Linked DNA regions of Homo sapiens: region 1 is linked to region 2. The links are contacts of gene promoters, found by promoter capture Hi-C in blood cells and fetal thymus (Javierre and others, 2016). All regions are on one chromosome and are shown on one strand. The core of a region is centred on a gene start or on the middle of the fragment in contact, and the rest is flanking DNA. Distances in the headings are between cores, read along the strand shown. Region 1 has its middle 28 kb from the start of PSEN2. Region 2 holds the start of STUM (stum, mechanosensory transduction mediator homolog).

Region 1 (4,821 bases), core at 1,958-4,457, 290 kb before region 2:
AGGCTCTAGGGAAAAAAATCTACTTCCTTGCCATTTCCATTTTTTAGAGGGGCTTCTTCCTTTCTTCCTTTCTTTCTTCCTTCCTTCCTTCCTTCCTTCCTGACTTCCCTCCTGACTGACCTACCTTCCTTCCTTCCTTCCTTCCTTCCTTCCTTCCTTCCTTCCTTCCTTCCTGTCTTTCTTTCTTTCTTGATGGAGTTTTGCTCTTGTTGCCCATGCTGGAGTGCAGTGGCACGATCTTGGCTCACTGCAACCTCCACCTCCCGGGTTCAGGCAATTCTCCTGCCTCAGCCTCCTGAGCAGCTGGGATTACAGGCATACGCCACCACACCTGGCTAATTTTTGCATTTTTAGTAGAGACAGGGTTTTACCATGTTGGCCAGGCTGGTCTCGAACTCCTGACCTCAGGTGTTCCACCTGCCCCAGCCTCCCAAAGTGCTGGGATTACAAGCATGAACCACTGCACCTGGCCTTTTTTTTTTTTTTTTTTTTTTTTTTTAAGATGGAGTCTTCCTCTGTTACCCAGGCTGGAGTGCAATGGCACAATGTTGGCTCACTACAACCTCCACCTCCCAGGTTCAAGCGATTCTCCTGCCTCAGCCTCCCAAGCAGCCTGGACTACAGGTGCACACCACCACACCTGGGTAATTTTTGTATTTTTAGTAGAGACGGGGTTTCCATGTTGGCCAGGCTGGTCTTCAACTCCTGACCTCAGGTGATCTGCCCACCTCAGCCTCCCAAAGTGCTGGGATTACAGGAATAAGTTTTAATCTTACAGAGTATGTTTTCTTATGACAACAATTGGTTCTTATTAAATCAATACTAGGATAACTAGAAAAGCCCCACATATTTGAAAATTAAACAGCATCCATGGAACAAGAAGGAAACCACAAGGGAAATTAGAAAATATTTCAAACTGAGTGAAAATCCACCATAGCAAATTTAAGGGCTGTAGCTAAGGCGGTGCTTAGAGTAAAATTTATAGCACTAAATGCTTACAGTGTTATAAAAGAATAACATTTTTAAAATGATGATCCAAACCTCACTTTAAGAACTAGAAAAGAAAAGCAAATTAAACCCATAATAAGTAGCAGAAAGGAAATAATAAAGATAAGAACAGAAGTGAACACAATACAAACAAGGAATTAACAAATCCAGAAGTTAGTTCTCTGAAAAGATTAATAAAATTGATAAACTCCAGTAAGGCCGATTATGAAGAAAAAGAGAAAATATCAATTATCAATATCAGCATGAAAGGGGGGATATCATCATAGATCTTACAGACATCAAAAAGATAAAAAATGAATATTATTATAATGGCATGCCATTAAATTCAGTAACCTAGATGAAATGAGAAAATTCCTTGAAAAATACAAATCATCAAAACTGACACAAGAGTATACAAAATCTAAATTGTCCCTTTTAATAGGTATTGCCTATTACAGATACTGACTTCCTAATTTAAAACCTTCCCACAGATAAAACTTCAGGCCCAGATGGTTCCACTGGTAAATTCTTTAAAACATTTAAGGACAAATTAATAATGCCAATCTTATACAAACTCTTTCAGAAAGTGAAACAGGAAGGAATAGTTTCCAATTTGTTTGATGAGAACAGCAAAAAACTGTCTTGAAATCAAAATAGAACAAAGATGCCAGAAGAAAAGAAAATTACATACCAATATTCCTCATGAACATGGACATACCAATCTTTAACAAAATATTAGCAACTTGAATCCAGCAATATATAAAAAGAACAATACCTCAAGTCCAAAAGGAGTTTATCCTAGGAGTGCAAGGTTGATTTCATACTGGAAATCAATCAATATAATTATGAATGGAATAATGAAAAACCATATGATCATCTCAGTAGATGTCAGAAAAACATTTGACAAAATTCAATATTCATTCATAATAATTCTCAGAAATGCAGGAATATAAGATAATTTTCTTATTCTGATAAAGGCTATGTATCATACTTACTGGTGAAATACTGAATGCTTTCCTCTTAGATCGGGAAAAATGCAAGAATGTCTATTCTTGCTCCTATTCAACACTGCCTGGCCAGAACCTGATTTTAAGATTTCTACAAGGCCTGGTGCAGTGGCTCACAGCTGTAATCCCAGCACTTTGGGAGGCCAGGGCTTGGGGAATCACAAGGTCAGGAGATCAAGACCATCCTGGCCAACATTGTAAAACCCCGTCTCTACTAAAAATACAAAAAATTAGCCGGGCATGGTGGCACGCGCCTGTAGTCCCAGCTACTCGCGAGGCTGAGGCAGGAGAATTGCTTGAACCTGGGAGGTGGAGGTTGCAGTGAGCCAAGATCGTGCCACTGCACTCCAGCCTGGGCCACAAAGCGAGACTCTGTCTCAAAAAAGAAAAAAAAAAGAGGGTCCATAGATAGATGGTCACTTGAGTTCTGACAAAGATATCAAGATAATTCAATAGGGAGAGGAAGTCTCATTAACAAATATGGTGCTGGAACTATTGAATCAATGTACGGGAAAAAATAAACCTTGCCCCCCTATTTCATAAATCTAAATGCTAACACTATAAAGCTTCTAGAACAAATTTAGATGAATATTCTCATAACTTTGGAATAGGACAAATTTTCTCAGAGCAGTCACAAGAAAAGCAGTAAACATAAAATTAAAAATGGAAAAGTAGGCCGGGCATGGTGGCTCATACCTGTAATCCCAGCAGTTTGGGAGGCTGAGGTGGGTGGATCCCTTGAGGTCGGGAGTTCGAGACCAGCCTGGCCGACATGATGAAACTCCGTCTCTTCTAAAAAATACAAAAATTAGCTGGGTGTGGTGGTGGGTGCCTGTAATCCCAGCTACTCAGGAGGCTAAGGCAGGAGAATCGCTTGAACCTAGGAAGCAGAGGATGCAGTGAGCTAGAATTGCACCATCACACTCCAGCCTGGGCAACAAAGTAAGACTGAGACTCATTTCAAAATAATAATAATTAAGAAAAAAATTAACCCAGTGTGGTGGCATGCGCCTGTGGTCCAGGTGCAGAGGTAGGAGGATCACTTGAGCCCAGTTGTTCAAGGTTACAATGAGCTGTGATCACTGGTGACAGAGTGAGACCCTGTCTCTTAAAAAAAAAAAATATATATATATATATGTGTGTGTGTGTATATATATGTGTATATATGTGTGTGTATGTGTATATATGTGTATATGTGTGTATATATGTGTGTATATGTGTATATATATGTGTGTGTATATGTGTATATATGTGTATATGTGTATATATGTGTATATATGTGTATATGTGTATATATGTATATGTGTATATATGTGTGTGTGTGTGTGTGTGTGTATATATATATATATATAAAAGACAGCCACAAAAGTATGTCTACTGTGTGGTTTCATTTATATGAAGTTTAAGAACAGGGAAAGTTAATCTACAAGATAGAAATCAGAACAGTGGTTTCCTCTGGGGGGATAAAGATTAACTGAAAGGGAATACTGGGAAACTTTCCAGATGACAGAATATATTTTGTCTGGGTGGTGGTTATGTGGGTGTATACACTTATCCAAATCCAAATGTATCTTGTATATTCAACATACAGCTGTGTGTTTCACTGCATGTAAATTTTAATTTACTGTATAATAATGCGTAAGTATACAGGTGCATACTTATATTTGTGATGGACATCCCAACAACTGAAAAGTAAGTTCTACTTAAAGATGAAAAAATACGATACATTTAACTACGTATTTTATCTCCTCTTTTCTTGACCATTGTAAACATAGGATATCTTAAAATAAATAATAAAGATTTTAAAAATGTTTATGTTGTCTTTTCCTTGGTATTTTTCTCCGTGTAATTTAAGCTTAAAGAGATTTTGCCCAGCTAGAAATTTGGGAAAAAGGCCAGGTGCAGTGGCTCATGCCTGTAATCCCAGCACTTTGGGAGGCTGAGGCAGGTGGATCACCTGAGATCAAGAGTTTGACACCAGCCTGGCCAACATTGTGAAACACCGTTTCTACTAAAAATACAAAAAATTAGCTGGAACCTGTAATCCCAGCTACTCGGGGGGCTGAGGCAGGAGAATCGCTTGAACTCGGGAGGCAGAGGTTACGGTGAGCCGAGATCGCGCCATTGCACTCCAGCCTGAGCAACAAGAGTGAGACTCCATCTCAAAAAAAAAAAAAGAAAAAAGAAATTTGGAAAAAAAATATGTGTGTATATATATATATATATTCTGTATTTCTCTGTATTCCATCCAGAATTTGTTTGGAGGAGAGAAGGCCTGCTTCCAGTCACACAGAGGAAAGGCTTTCTTTTCACATCTAAATTCCCTCCCTTGAGCTCCCTGCTCAGGTGACTGCTTCTTCTGGCCAAGGGAAAAGAAGAGGTAGCAAAGCGTGAGACATCCCTTCTTGGTGGGAGTTATAGAGGGGGTCTATCTGCCCCCAGCAGAGTGCTTGTCCTTTTTCTGCATATGACTGTCTTTCTCTAAGTGGCCTCATTTTCAGATTAATACAGCTTGAAATTGGCCTGTTTCCTTGAAAAAAAAATTTCTTTTTGAGACAGGGTCTGGCTTTGTTGCCCAGGTTGGAGTGCAGTAGTAGCACAATCATAGCTCACTGCAGCCTCAACTTCCTTGCTCAAGCGATCCTCCCACCTCCCAGCTCAGCCTCCTGAGTAGCTGGGACTACAGCTGCATGCCACCATGCCTGGCTAATTTTTTGATTTTTAAAATTTTTTTGTAGAGACGAGGTCTGGAACTCCTGTGCCTCAAGTGATCCTCCTGCCTCAGACTCCTAAAGCACTGAGATTACAAGCGTGAGCCACTGCACCC
Region 2 (4,859 bases), core at 1,059-3,558:
AGGATTATGTCACTGAAAATTCAGAAATCTGTGCACCTACAGCTCACCTGTTTTATTACTTTTGTGGTTTGCATATCTTCCCTTTATTTTCTCCTGGTTTCTTATAATGGTTTGTTTTGTTTGTTTGTTTATTTGTTTGTTTCACAAAAATCCCATAGGATTCTGATCTCACAAAGGGAAAAGCTGGATCCCCAGGGCAAGGAGCCAGGGGTCAGCGGAATGGACGGTGCCCTGCAGCCGATGCTGTCAATGCAGCAGGGCTAAGGCTGGGAAAGGCACCTAGTGAAGGGAGACCAGGGAGGGTACACACAGGTACATGCGTGGGCAGCTGCTGTCTCCTGGGGCTGGTCTCCCACAAGGTGGTTTCCTCGTGCAGCAGTGACTTGGTGCAGCCCCTCTCACCTGGCACCAATGCATTTGTTTCCTCAAAAGACCATAGGGTGGCGTTTACCTCACCACTTAAAAAAAAAAAAAAAGGTGGATCAAGATGCATGCTGGCTCAGGAGGATCTTCATATCCGCCAGAGGGAGGGGCAGGCAGTCTCTTTTTACTCCAGCAGGTGAGAATTTCTGATAAAACTAGATTAACACCAGCTGGCCTCCTTGCAGTGTCTAAATGTGCAAAGAGAGCTGATCTGATGACACCAGCCAGGGGGACAGGCTGCTGGAGGCACCCCAGAAGAGAGAAGCCCAACTAAAGGCCACCTAACTTACTGCTCAGATAGGCTGCTCTGGCCGCAGCAGCCCCTTAGGGTAGAAAGACAAGTAAGCTCGGAGGGGAAAGTGAACGGGTCCTGCGTGGGTGGCTGTGGCCTTGGCTGTCACCGCAGCAGAGGCCCCTGCTAAGCAGGCGAAGAGCGAGGAGACCGTGAGAAAGGCCAAAGTCAAACTGAAAACCCCTTCCAGCTGGCCTCTGCTCTTGGGAACTTGGAACCATACGTTGGCAACAGGCTCGCCGACAGGGGCACGCTTTCTCCCGGAGAGGGCACTGGGGCGCCTGGTTCTTCGGGCGGGCACGGGAGAGGGGGGCACCTCCCAGCACGCAGGAGCAGCCAGTGCCAAGCTGGAGGAGGGGAGGGGCGTGCAGGCAGAGACCTGGGGGTGGAGTTAAGGGAGGGAGGGTCAGGAAAACTTCTCATTCCCTGCCTCCATTCACCCTCCTGCACCATCTCTGTAAGGGGCCTCTGCTTTAAAACGTGGGACATAGATGCCACCAGAACCCCTGCCGGCTGCCGGAGTCCTGCACAGAATTACATCGGCGCACTCTCTACTTCTCAGGAACAGAAGGGATCCGAGGGAGCTATGGGTTCATCTCTGGCCACATGCATCCAAACTAATAAAATCATCCCCCATCCCCCTGGCGCCCTGCGGGGTGCTGGCGGAAGTGCAGGTACCCCTGAATGAGGCGGAGGAGACTCTGGCTAGAGTTCTCGTCCCCACGCGGTCCGCACTCCGCGAACCAAAGGGGGCTGCAGGTATATCTAGCCCGGCTCGTCCTCTTTCCCCGGCTCAGCTGACTTCGACGCCCGGGAGTTTGATCCTCGCCGCCGAGGCCCTAGAGCTCATTCTGATCCGACCCCATTCCTCTCGGGGAAGTGGGCTCGCGGACGGATGCACACGACGGAGAGAAGGAGCAGAAATCGGGGCGCCGGGACGGGAGCCCTACTCCGAAGCCGGCAGAGCCATTCCGGCCGCCGCTGCGGGCTCCAACATTGGCCGCAAAGTTTCCGGCTCTTTGGGGCCCCGCCTGCGGGTCGGAGACCCCAGCGCAGCCTCTCCCCTCTGGGGTGCACACTCCACGCGCTTCTGCCACCTGCCCGGGGACGCCAGGAGCGGGCGGTGGCGCGTGGTCGCAGCACTTGGAGCGCGCGGCCCCGCCAGGAGGTCTCCGGCCGCGCCCTTCTCTCCCCCCACGCCCTCCCGCGGCGGGGTGGGGGTCGCAAGGGTCGCGGCAGCCGTGTCTTACCCAGTCCCGGCACGAAAGTGTTGAGGAAGAGGCAGATGACGGCCACGGGGAAGGGCATGTAGGGGATGGCGGCGCGCAGGGGGCCCTTCTTCTCGCGGACCTGCACCACCACCCCGCTGGACGAGGACGCCCCCCGGGGGTCCGCCGCCGCCACCGCCGCCGCCGCCGCCGCCGTCTCGGCGTCTTTGTGCGAGGGCTCCATGGCCGGGCGCGCTCTCAGGCAGCCGGGCAGCACGGCCGGAGCTGGCGCCCAGCGTACGGGAGCAGGAGACTGTCGGCTGCGGGCTCCGGGCTCCGCGCCGAGCTCAGGCGGCCGCCGTGCTCCGTGCGCCGCGCGGCTCGCGGAGACTCCCGCCCTCCGGCGTCCCCACACGCCCGGCGGAGGGGCGGGGAGGGCGGCGCGACACCCGGTGACAGCGCTCTGACGCCCCTCCTCGCCAGGCCCCTTCCCCGCCCCCTCCCCCCAACCAAAACCACCGCTCACAAGGAATGGAAAATCAGGGCGGAGGGAAAGCAGTGGAAGAGGACCGCAAAGGGAGCTGTTTGCCCAGGTGCTGGAAGGGGTGGACACACCTCGCCCTCCCAGACAGGTGAACTAGGAACCTTGACCACGAAGCCCTGCGAACTGGGAGTGTGTGCTTGGCTGACACCGTCGGGAAAGCCTCGAGGCTGAGTCCCCTGATCTAGAGCAAGCCTTTGGCCAGGGACATGGGGACAAGGGACGGACCGCGCGGCGCCTGACACCTAGTCGGCCTTCAGTGCATTGTGATTTAAATGATTTTGTTTGGGGCGAGCGCAGTGGCTCCCGTCTGTATTCCCCACTTTGGGAGGCCAAGGTGGGAGAATTACTTGTGCCCAGGAGTTCGAAACCAGCCTGGGCAACGTAGCGAGACCCCCCCCCCCCCGCCCCAGCTCTATTTTGTAAAAAAAAAAAAAAAAAAAAAAAATCACTTAAAAAATATATAGGAGTGAATTTGTTTCAAGTGTCAGAGAAAAAGCAATCCAGAGATCGGATCGATAATAGAGGAAACAGATTTGCAAACACCAGGCCAGGTCTCCGCAAGACTAGTTAAAAGATGGGACACTTCCCTACACACACGCACCAAAAGCAGAAAGAAATGCGCCTGTTGCAGGCTTGTTGGGAAGCGTTCACCATCCCCTGAACTATACTGGAGGAAACCTGAGCCTTCTGTGAGCCCGACGTGGTGGTTAAAGAGCCAGTGAGGACACAGCGCCGTCTGGCGTTAATAATGGGGCAGTTGGTAGAAGCAACAGCCGGCAGCTTGAGGTCCTGTTTGAATTCGATTTTCTGAATAAGGCTGCTTCGCCTCCGCACCTGGAAAAAGTAAACGGATGAAAGTTACCGCCTCTAACGTTAGGGAGGGGTTAAAGGCTTCGGAATTATCCAGACAGTCAGCAAATCGTCTGAATAATTGGAAGGGTGCAATAGCCTCCCTTCAGGAATAATAGTGATTATTATTATAAACAACCCAGGGTCTCAGAAGAGGCTAAAAGAACATGGGTTATTGTATACTTATACTTATTGTATAAGTCTCTGAATAAAATAATTTTAAAAGCAAATGGCCAGGGGTTAGTGATGATACTGGTGGACACACACATGCGTGTGTACACATACACAGATACACACACACACGAGTCATTAGCTTAGGTTTGGCAGTCAGAAGAACAGGGTTAAAAATTTTAGTCTTTGTTCAGCCACTAAAACCTGTATGGCTTAGAAGAACTCGCTTAGCCTTTTCTGGCCTGGAGTTACTGTGTTGGTTAAAATCATAGCAAGCTTCCATTTAATACACAATTATTGAAGGCCTACTAAGACTTAGATTCCAGGGAGAGAGAAATGAGTAAAATCCAGCCTCTGCCTTCAAGAATCTAAGAAATGAGCTGAGAGATACTGACAACTACAAAGATAGACTTACAGAAACAGTGAGGAATGTTGCAGCTGTGATGTGCTGGAGGTGCTGCGACAACATGGACCTATCTGTGAAGCCAGCTAGCGTGGGGGAGGCCTCGGGGAGGTGTCCCAAAGAAGGCGATACTCAAAGGGACTTGAGCAATGACTACAGTTAACTATTTGCAGATTTGTTTTATTTTCAACAAACACTTATTTACCCAAGCACTCTCTGCCAGGCATCATTCTAAAAACCCTTTACACATTTTAACTCTTTTAATCCTTACCATAACTCTACAAAGTAAGGATTATTTATTACCCCATTTTACAGATGGGGCAATTGAAGCACAGAGAAGTTAAACAGGCTGCACAAAGTCCCCCACTAATCAGTGGTAGAGCTGGCAGCTGAATGCAGGCAATCTGGCTCCAGAATCAATTCTATATAACCAGTATTTTATTCAGAGACCTAGAAAATAACCCACATTCTGTGAATATTCTTTTGCAGAGCACTTGAACTGTCTTAGGGCCAGTCAATCATTCCTCCTGGAGAAAAAGGATTTCAGGGACGTCAGTGGATTTGCATCCCCCAGTTTTCCAGATGATTTGCTGAATATCTTGGATGTCAGAAAGACATCCAGGCAGAGCAACAAAATATACAAAGGCATGGGAGCCCAGGGAAGTAGGGATGATTCCAGGAATTGCAGTGTGGCTGGCACTAGGGCTTGTGTGGGCAGAGACAGGAGATGGATCTGGTGGGGTGGACAGGCATCTAGTACTGAATGGCAAAGGAATTTGGACTTCATCTCGGTGGTGGTGATGCAGAATCACTGGAACATTTTAAGCAGGGGTGTGGCATAAGTGTTCCAGTTACTATCACTGTGTCACAAATTACCCCCAAATTTAGCAGCTTAACACAACCATTTTTTTCTGATCACAAATTCTGTGGTCAGGAGCTTGGACAGAGCACACCAAGATAATTCTTCTT

Evidence for each region. Contacts are between HindIII fragments. The CHiCAGO score rates a contact against its expected background, and 5 or more counts as called.
Region 1: a fragment that was not itself captured here is called in contact with the fragment with the promoter of STUM in region 2 in 2 of 17 cell types (M1 macrophages and M2 macrophages); the score reaches 6.7 in M1 macrophages.

Annotation. Positions count from the first base shown.
Region 1 is chr1:226,840,518-226,845,338 of GRCh38, reverse strand. No RefSeq gene overlaps it. Among named protein-coding and RNA genes, the nearest start is that of PSEN2, 28 kb to the left of the region's middle. The HindIII fragment of the contact is 1,289 bases long and covers 2,563-3,851 here.
Region 2 is chr1:226,546,213-226,551,071 of GRCh38, reverse strand. STUM (stum, mechanosensory transduction mediator homolog) reads right to left here and starts at 2,308. Exons shown (of 4, transcript NM_001003665.4): 1 at 1,966-2,308. The coding sequence starts at 2,167. RefSeq lists a silencer at 3,030-3,324. The HindIII fragment of the contact is 11,252 bases long and covers 1-3,765 here.